Regions from separate parts of the Homo sapiens genome. Here region 2 is linked to region 1. The links are contacts of gene promoters, found by promoter capture Hi-C in human tissues and cell types (Jung and others, 2019). All regions are on one chromosome and are shown on one strand. The core of a region is centred on a gene start or on the middle of the fragment in contact, and the rest is flanking DNA. Distances in the headings are between cores, read along the strand shown.

What was found. Contacts are between HindIII fragments. The study calls those that stand out against the background at their distance.
Region 2: a fragment that was not itself captured here is called in contact with the fragment with the promoter of INTS2 in region 1 in 1 of the 25 tissues and cell types used here (mesenchymal stem cells).

What each region holds. Positions count from the first base shown.
Region 1 is chr17:61,926,236-61,930,712 of GRCh38, reverse strand. INTS2 (integrator complex subunit 2) reads left to right here and starts at 2,731. Exons shown (of 25, transcript NM_001351695.2): 1 at 2,731-3,059; 2 at 4,051-4,361. The coding sequence starts at 4,069. RefSeq lists a silencer at 2,601-2,700. The HindIII fragment of the contact is 16,998 bases long and covers 1-4,477 here.
Region 2 is chr17:61,512,547-61,517,023 of GRCh38, reverse strand. No RefSeq gene overlaps it. Among named protein-coding and RNA genes, the nearest start is that of TBX4, 62 kb to the right of the region's middle. RefSeq lists an enhancer at 2,336-2,836. The HindIII fragment of the contact is 4,645 bases long and covers 399-4,477 here.

The sequences.
Region 1 (4,477 bases), core at 1,482-3,981:
ATTTTGGGAGGCCAAGGTGGGTGGATCAGCTGAGGTCAGGAGTTTGAGACCAGCCTGGCCAACATGGTGAAACCCTGTCTCTACTAAAAATACAAAAAATTAGCCAGGCATGGTGGCAGGCACCTGTAATCCCACCTACTCAGGAGGCTGAGGCAGGAGAATCGCTTGACCCTGGGAGGCGGAGGTTGCAGTGAGCCAAGATCGCACCACTGCACTCCAGCCTGGGTGACACAGCGAGACTCTGTCTCAAAAAAAAAAAAAAAAAAATTAGCCAAGTGTGGTGGTGCACACCTATTGTCCCAGCTACTCAGGAGGCTGAGGTGGGAGGATTGCTTCAGCTTGGGAGGCAGAGGTTGTAGTGAGCCGAGATCGTGCCACTGCACTCCAGCTTGGGCAACAGAACGAGACTCTGTCTCAAAAAAAAAAAAGTTTTATTGGCAAACATTACAATGTTTCAATGATTATAAAGATTTTTGCTAAATTAATACAAGGGGGAGAGATTAGAGTCTAGGATGACTTTTAGGTTTCTGGCTTGAGCAACTCAAGGTCAAGTTGGTGAACTGGAAGAAAAGGAGAGGGGGACTTGGAGGAAGTGTCAGCACTCATTATGTGACACTGCAGCCATCTCATTCAGTGATTTTTCTGTTTCTCCATAGATCAAGATGGAGATACTGAATCTGCATGATGTTTCTCCATTAGTGAACAGAGGATCATAATTAGAGTTGGAAAGGATCTTTAAAATCACTTAGTTCATACCCACATCTTCCTCTCATTCGTCCCTCAAACCAATGTTTGCACTGCCTTCACACTTTTCCTGTGAAATGACCATCCATGGAGATGAAATTGCTTACCCTCTCTCAGTTTCCACAATTGCAAAAGGCGAATATTACCTACGTCACAAGATTGAATCAGATAATATATATAAAGCATTTATTACAGTGCCTAGCAAGTGTTCAATAAATAAATCCCAAATATTAGCTTAAAAATGCTAGGACAGTACAGTGTGCAACCCATTAATAGAGTGTGAAATCAGTTTTAGTGTGCAGTGACCAGCAGTTTTTTAAAGAGAAGTAGAAACATGTAGTGTGTGTGTTATTATACGAAATATTTGTTTCCATGTAAATGTGGGTTTATATGTTATATATTTATATGTTTATATAGCATATAAATTTATACACTTACACTTATTTTTGTATGTGGATATATACATATGTTTTTTCTGGGTCACAATGTGAAATGTATTATTGTGGGTCAGGTGGAAAAAATTTTCAGAAGCATTGCAACACACAATTCTTTTCTTCCTTTGCTGATCTATGTTGAAAGTCATATATATATATATATTTTTGAGATGGAGTCTGGCTCTGTTGCCCAGGCTGGAGTGCGGTGGCATGATCTCTGCTCACTGAAACATCTGCCTCCTAGGTTCAAGTGATTTTCCTGTCTCAGCCTCCGAAGTAGCTGGGACTACAGGTGCTCCATCACCACGCTGGGGTAATTTTTTTTTTTTTTTTTTTTTTTTGAGACGGAGTTTCGCTCTTATTGCCTAGGCTGGAGTGCAATGGCACGATCTCAGCTCACCACAACCTCCGCCTCCCAGGTTCAAGCAATGCTCCCGCCTCAGCCTCCCAAGTAGCTGAGATTACAGGCGCACACCACCACGCCTGGCTAATTTTTGCATTTTTAGTAGAGGCGGAGTTTCACCATGTTGGTCAGGCTGGTCTCGAACTCCTGGCCTCGTGATCTGCCTGCCTCGGCCTCCCAAAGTGCTAGGATTACAGGCATGAGCCATCGTGCTCGGCCTAATTTTTATATTTTTTGTAGAGTTGGGGTTTAGTCATGTTGCGTCAGGCTGGTCTCGAACTCCTGACCTCAGGTGATCCGCCCGCCTCGGCTTCCCAAAGCGCTGGGATTACAGGCATGAGACACCACGCCCGGCTCTGACTTTATTTTTAAAGAGGTTATAAAGTGCTATATCTTTGTAAAATATTTTTATTTCCAGCTCCTAGCACAATATCTGGTAAATAGAAGTTGCCAAATAAACGTTGATCGAACTAGGAACAATAAATAGTATGAAGACATATGGACTAGCGGTTCTTCATATATAGACTAGTGGTTCTTTTCTGAGTGATCAGACTTCCTTTGAGAAGTTGTTGAAAGTTTTGGACCCTCTTCCCAGAAGAAGTGCCGAGCACTCAGTTCTGAACGGATTCCAGAGAATTCCTGAATCCCCGTGCATTGCCTCTCTAAGGTTCTATGGGTCCCCCAAGTTAAGAACCTGAAAGGAAGGTGTTTAACTTCTGACAGCGGAGGTGTGAGGTCAAGAGCGGAAGAAAGTTTGGGGTTAGATCACTTTTAAAATTCTCCCACAAATCCTGGGATTCTAGAATTTTGGTTCTGGGAAGGCACAGGCAAAGATTTAAAGAGTACAGTTTGGTACCACTAGTGTCAAAGAATAGTGGGAACGATTTTAACACACGTTATGCCATTTGAATGCCATGGCAATCCTGTGATGATGAAATTTAAGTTCTGAGGGGCTCAGTGGCTTGCTTGTCTAAAAGGAAGGAGCTGGTAGGCTCTGGAAATCAGAGCCTACCAGAATCACATTTCTAAATTTTTGGCGAACAAGTAGGGCAGGGCAAATAAAGTGGAGAAAGGGGCGGGGCCGCGCACGCGCACAGTTGCATTGGCGCCGACGTCTCTGCCTTTCCTCTCGCAGCCACCCTTCCTCTCAGACCAGTACGGTGGCCGACGGGAGTCAGACGCTGGGGATGAATGAAGGTGCTGGGTGCAGGTTGAAAAAGTCTCCCGCTTTTCCGTTCCTACAGTCCCGGTTCTGCCTTTGTGTGGTGCCCCCATCCTTCCCACTTTGTATCGACAACCCGGTTGGTCCCGGCGTCTGAGTTCTTGGTGTCCGAGTCGACTCGAGGCACAACTAGGGTTTGGGGTTCCGGATATCGCCTAGGCCCAACATCGGACCGCGCTCTCGATTTCTGCCGCGTCCCGCCTCTAGGACGCGGAGTCCGTGTGCGGTTCCGTGAGGCTGGAGGGTAGATCTTAAGGTATGAAGCGTCCGCTTCTCTGGCCTCAGCGCGTTCCTAGGTCCGTGTCGGAGCCTGGCCAGACTTTGCTCAGCCTGAGGGACTTATTGGTTCTAGTTGCGCCCGGGGCGAGACGGAGGAGCACGCAGGTCTTGGCTCCTCTGCTCCAGTCAGCCCGCCCCTCTGTTAAAAGAGCAGCCCCTCCCTGAAAGCAAAGCAGTTTTTACCCACGACTTTTACCCACGCTGCTGCTAGTCGGTCGGCCTTGAGAGGGGACTGCTTTGGCTGCCAGCTCACTGCCTTTTTGTTTACTTTTTGTGCCTTGGATGATTCCTGGAGACAGAGAAGTGCGCTAATGAGACGCGTCTTTCTCACATAGCACCCACACATCTGCTTTTTACCCGGTAACACAGGGGACATAGGATAGTGTTGTGGCCTCCAGAGCCTTGAATCTGGCATTGGTTCTGCCCAGTGATTTGCTAGTTTTTCCACCGACTCATGGAGGGTGAGAAAGAGAAGCCCAATAGTTCTTGATGTATATCGGGGTAGGCATGTGAAACTATCGGGGTATGAAAGAAAGCACTTAACTATGACCATTCACTTTTGTTTACATTTTGTGGAGCTCATGTGACTGATATAGTGGAGAAAGTCTTGGACTGGGATTTTAGTAGATGAGGATTCAGCCTTGGATTGTGCCTCTAACTAGTAATACTATTTTGGGCGTGTTACTTCATCTCTCTGGGCTTCATATTCCTTCTTTGTAAAATATGAGTATTAGAGCAGAAGATTCCTGAGGCTGGAAGAGACATTAATATACTCTGTTTTCTTTCCCATTTCCCAGGTGACAGTATAAACCTAGGGAGACAGAGAAGCCTTGTCTTGATTGTGCCAGGAACATTGCCAACATAGGGACCTATTAAAGATACACCACATTTTTCAGGGTTTTTAGAAAGTTGGGTGTTCATACATGTGAAAGTTAAACTCCTACTTTCATTTGTATTTTTACCATTAGGATCAACAAACAGTAATAATGACTGAATGTACAAGTCTTCAGTTTGTCAGCCCTTTTGCTTTTGAGGCAATGCAGAAGGTGGATGTTGTTTGCCTGGCATCTTTAAGTGATCCAGAATTAAGACTTCTTCTGCCCTGTTTGGTACGGATGGCACTTTGTGCACCTGCTGACCAGAGCCAAAGCTGGGCTCAGGATAAGAAACTCATCCTTCGCCTTCTTTCTGGAGTGGAAGCTGTCAACTCCATTGTTGCATTGTTGTCCGTGGACTTTCATGCTTTAGAACAAGATGCCAGCAAAGAACAGCAGCTTAGGTAATGTTATGTTATATTATATGTGGATTTGGATTTGACAAAGAACAGGGAATCAGATATTTTTTAGAGCTCTCCAGAAAAGAGAGAATGAGAATCTAAATTCTGGAGAGCATTTT
Region 2 (4,477 bases), core at 1,472-3,971, 410 kb after region 1:
CTTTTTTTTTGTTTTTGTTTTCATTTTTTTTGGAAACAGGGTCTCACTCTGTCACCCAGGCTGGCTGGAGTGCAAAGGCATGATCACAGCTCACTGCAGCCTCAACTTCCCCGGGTTCGAGCGATCCTCCCACCTCAGCCTCCCTAGTAGCTGAGACTACAGGTGCATGCCACCATGCCCAGCTAATTTTTGTATTTTTTTTGTAGAGACAAGGTTTTACCATGTTGTCCAGGCTGGTCTGCAACTCCTGGACTCAAGCAATCTGCTCACCTTGGCCTCCCAGAGGGCTGGGATTACAGATGTGAGCCACCACGCCCAGCCATATCTGCTTTTGAATGTGGTTTTTTTCTTACTATCAAGCTGCCATCTGCCTCTTCTCACTGTAGTCAGTGCACTTGCTCACAAAATCCTCCCTCATCTTTTAATTTGCTACTTCTTTCTAATTAGCTCTAGGCTTAGGAACCAGACAACTGTGACTCACAAGTTCTATGTGAGGGTTTTAGACTAGCTATATGAGTAAAATAAATCATCATATACCTTGGGTTCATACTTTGCAACACAAGTCTTGATTATTCAGATAAAGTTTTGGAAAGCAGTGTGGTGCAGTGGAAAGAATATGAGTTTTGGAATCAGACAGACCCAAATCTGCATCTTAACTCCTCTACTTGTTAGCTGTGTCATCTTGGGCAAGTTGTTCAATCTCTCTGAACCTCAGATTCATCATCTGATAGAGTAAATAAGACTGATATCATACAGTTACAAAGATTAAGTGAGGAAATATATATAAAGTATATAACAGAGTTCTAGACACATAGCAGGTGATACATAAAGCTTCATTCTCTCTCTTTACTTAACCCTTCATTTTCCCTTTCTTCCTGGTTTATAGCTGTGTTTCTGGAGAGACTGAGCTCTGACTGGCTCAGGGGAGATATATGGCCTAAAATATGGAATGTATTAGGAAAGGAATAATGGTGAGACCATAGGAGTCTGAGATCATGAGAAGCTGAGAGACAGAGTACGGCTATAATTTCTTACCAGTAAAAGAAAGAGGGGCCGGGCATGGTGGTTCATGCCTGAAATCCCAGCACTTTGGAAGGCCAAGGCGGGTGGATCACCTGAGGTCAGGAGCTCGAAACCAGCCTGGCCAATATGGCGAAACCCCGTCTCTACTAAAAATGCAAAAATTAGCCAGGCACGGTGGTGGGTGCCTGTAATCCCAGCTACTTGGGAGGCTGAGGCAGGAGAATTGCTTGAACCTGAGAGGCAGAAGTTGCAGTGAGCCGAGATCACGCCACTGCACTCCAGCCTGGGTGACAGAGCGAGACTCCGTCTTTAAAAAAAAAAAAAGAAAGAGGAAAAATCCCAAGATGAGAGAGAAATTTTGTGAATGCCACAGCATAAAGAGTCATTAACACAAACCTGACCACATATAAGCAGTTGCAAGTGTGGTTCACCTTCATCAGGCACTATTCTCAGCTGTTTTGTCTTTCTTGCCAATTTTTGGCATCAAAATCCCAGCCTATAGTTGGGAGCTGGAATCCACTTGGTTCGAGTATCATGAATAGTTAAAGGATTTTGTCTGTTCGAACTCAAGACTTCATAAAGACTTTTTTAAATTTATTTTTTATTATTTATTTATTTTTTTTTTGGAGTGCGGTGGCACGACCTCAGTTCACTGCAACCTCCCAGGCTGGAGTGCAGTGGCGCGATCTCGGCTCACTGCAACCTCCGCCTCCCGGGTTCAAGCAATTCTCATGCCTCAGCTTCCCGAGTAGCTGGGACTACAGGCGTGCGCCACCATGCCCAGCTAATTTTTTATTTTTAGTAGAGACGTGGTTTCACTATATTGGCCAGGCTGGTCTCGAACTCCTGACCTCAGGTGATCCACCCACCTTGGCCTCCCAAAGTGCTGGGATTACAGGAGTGAGCCACCGTGCCTGGCCCATGAAGACTTTTAAAAGGATCTCATTGATCCTTTTAAAGGTTTGACTAAATGTATATTATATAATAAAATGTATATTATAGGACAAAATGTACATTGTAGAATAAGCTATATTTTATTATTTAATTTAAACATAAATCTCTAAACTCAACTATAATCATCAGTTCTTTTATACAATCATACAGTTTCAATATTAAGCACCAATCATTTTACACTAAATAACTGGTGGGTTGTCTCTCTCCTGGTCCGACTCTTTTGTTGTGTACATTGACTGCTGACTTTCTGAGCTCCATGCTGTCTTATGTTCCTACTGGTCTACCTTGTCCAGATGCTTTTAACTATTTACAGAAAATTCTCAGCTTCTCTGTCTGCAGTTGCTGAGAGTTTGGTCTGTGATTGCAGTCCTTCGAACTGTATTTCCATAGCACTAGCAAAATTGTTCCCCATCTGCTCCTGAACAGAACCATTTAAAGCTGTTACAAATGAAAGTTCACTTTCTTTCACTCTCCGCCCTGCAAAATACATGCCACAGCCACTCTCTCTCGCACAGCTTTGATATCTGTTAGTCTCTTGCTTTTTTTTTTATCTTCTCTCCATTTCTCTGTTTCCTTTTTTTTTTTTTAGGAAGAGAACAGAACAACCTGAAAAAGTCTTCTCCAACGTGCAGAAGAAATGACAGTTCTTGGGTTACATCACACCTTCCTTTGTGACTGTAGCAAACTAGAGTTTTGTTACTTAATTATTTCATGCCCACATTTACGTGGGGGTTAGATATCTAAGCAAATTAGAAAGACTTTCTTTTTTTTTTTTTGAGACGGAGTCTGTCGCCCAGGCTGGAGTGCAGTGGCGCAATCTCGGCTCACTGCAACCTCCGCCTCCCGGGTTCACGCCATTCTCCTACCTCAGCCTCTGGAGTAGCTGGGACTGCAGGCGCCCGCCACCAAGCCCGGCTAATTTTTTTGTATTTTTAGTAGAGACGGGGTTTCACCGTGTTAGCCAGGATGGTCTGGATCTCCTGACCTCATGATCCGCCTGCCTCGGCCTCCCAAAGTGCTGGGATTACACGTGTGAGCCACCTTGCCCGGCCCCATGAAACACTTAAGCAGCTTCCATTATTTTTATGCTGTTTTACTCTGTTGTTTTGCAAGTAAATTCTGACCATGGATGGAAAGGTATTATGAGAATCTCCAAGAAAAAGAAAATTACTGAAGCTAAAATTGGAGAAAGTATAAAAGAAAGAGGAATTAAGTTAGAAAACTCAATTTAATTCCATTTTAAAACTAATATGCTCAGCTGGGCGTGGTGGCTCACGCCTGTAATCCCAACACTTTGGGAGGCCGAGGCGGGTGGATCACCTGGGGTCAGGAGTTCAAGACCAGTCTGGCCAACATGGTGAAACCCTGTCTCTACTAAAAATTCAAAAATTAGCCAAGCTTGGTGGTGGGCACCTGTAATCCTAGCTACTCGGGAGGCTGAGGCATGAGAATTGCTTGAACCTGGGAGGGGGAGGTTGCAGTGAGCTGAGGCTGCATTATTGTACTCCAGCCTGGGCGACAAGGGCGACAAGAGTGAAACTCTGTCGCAAAAAAAAAAAAGAAAAAAAAATGCTCATTGGAGCCTCACTTGTACTAACTCCAAGTTACATGTTCTGGAGTCCTTAGTGATAAAGAAATGGAATACACTTTCTTTAAATAATGAGTCATTTTTTTGAAGGTATAAAATCAGTCTTTTAAAATTAAGAACCCATAAGGTAATGAGGACTCCACTTTTTTTTTGAAATTTTTTATTTTTATACAGAGTCTTGCTCTGTCACCCAGGCTGGAGTGCAGTTGCGTGATCTCGACTAACTGCAACCTCAGCCTCCCAGGTTCAAGCAATTCTCGTGCCTCAGCCTCCCAAGTAGCTGGGATTACAGAGGTATGCCACCATGCCCAGCTAATTTTTGTACTTTTAGTAGAGACAGGGGTTCACCATATTGGCCAGGCTGGTCTTGAACTCCTGGCCTCAAGTGATCTGCCTGCCTTGACCTCCCAAAGTGCTGGGATTACAGGCATGGGTCACTGCACCCGGCCAAGGACTTCACTATTACTCCCACACCTTCTAGTTTATCATGAAATCTATGAAACAGAAGAAATCTGTGAAGTCGTGGAAAGAGCACCAAACTTAGAATCAGGACGTGGTTCAAGCCCTGGCTTTTCATTTACTCCCTGCATGACCTTGTCCAAGACGCTTAACCTCTCTGAGCCACAGTCTATAAAATTGAGATCATCTTCCTTAGAGGGGTGCTCTGATTAAATTATGAGATTATACACTAGGAAGCACTGTGCAAATACAATTTTATTTTGAAGTCATCAATTTCCATTCTTCTCTCCCTTAGGTTCATTCATGTGCAGGCCTCTCAGAACCAGTCCTCTCAGTTCCGTACCCTGTCTCTTGCTTCAAGATAGAAGACCACTACCTTCACTCAATACTTGCCTAGGGCGTGTCGCACACTTTGCATATATCACTTTTATTTATTTATTTATTTATTTATTT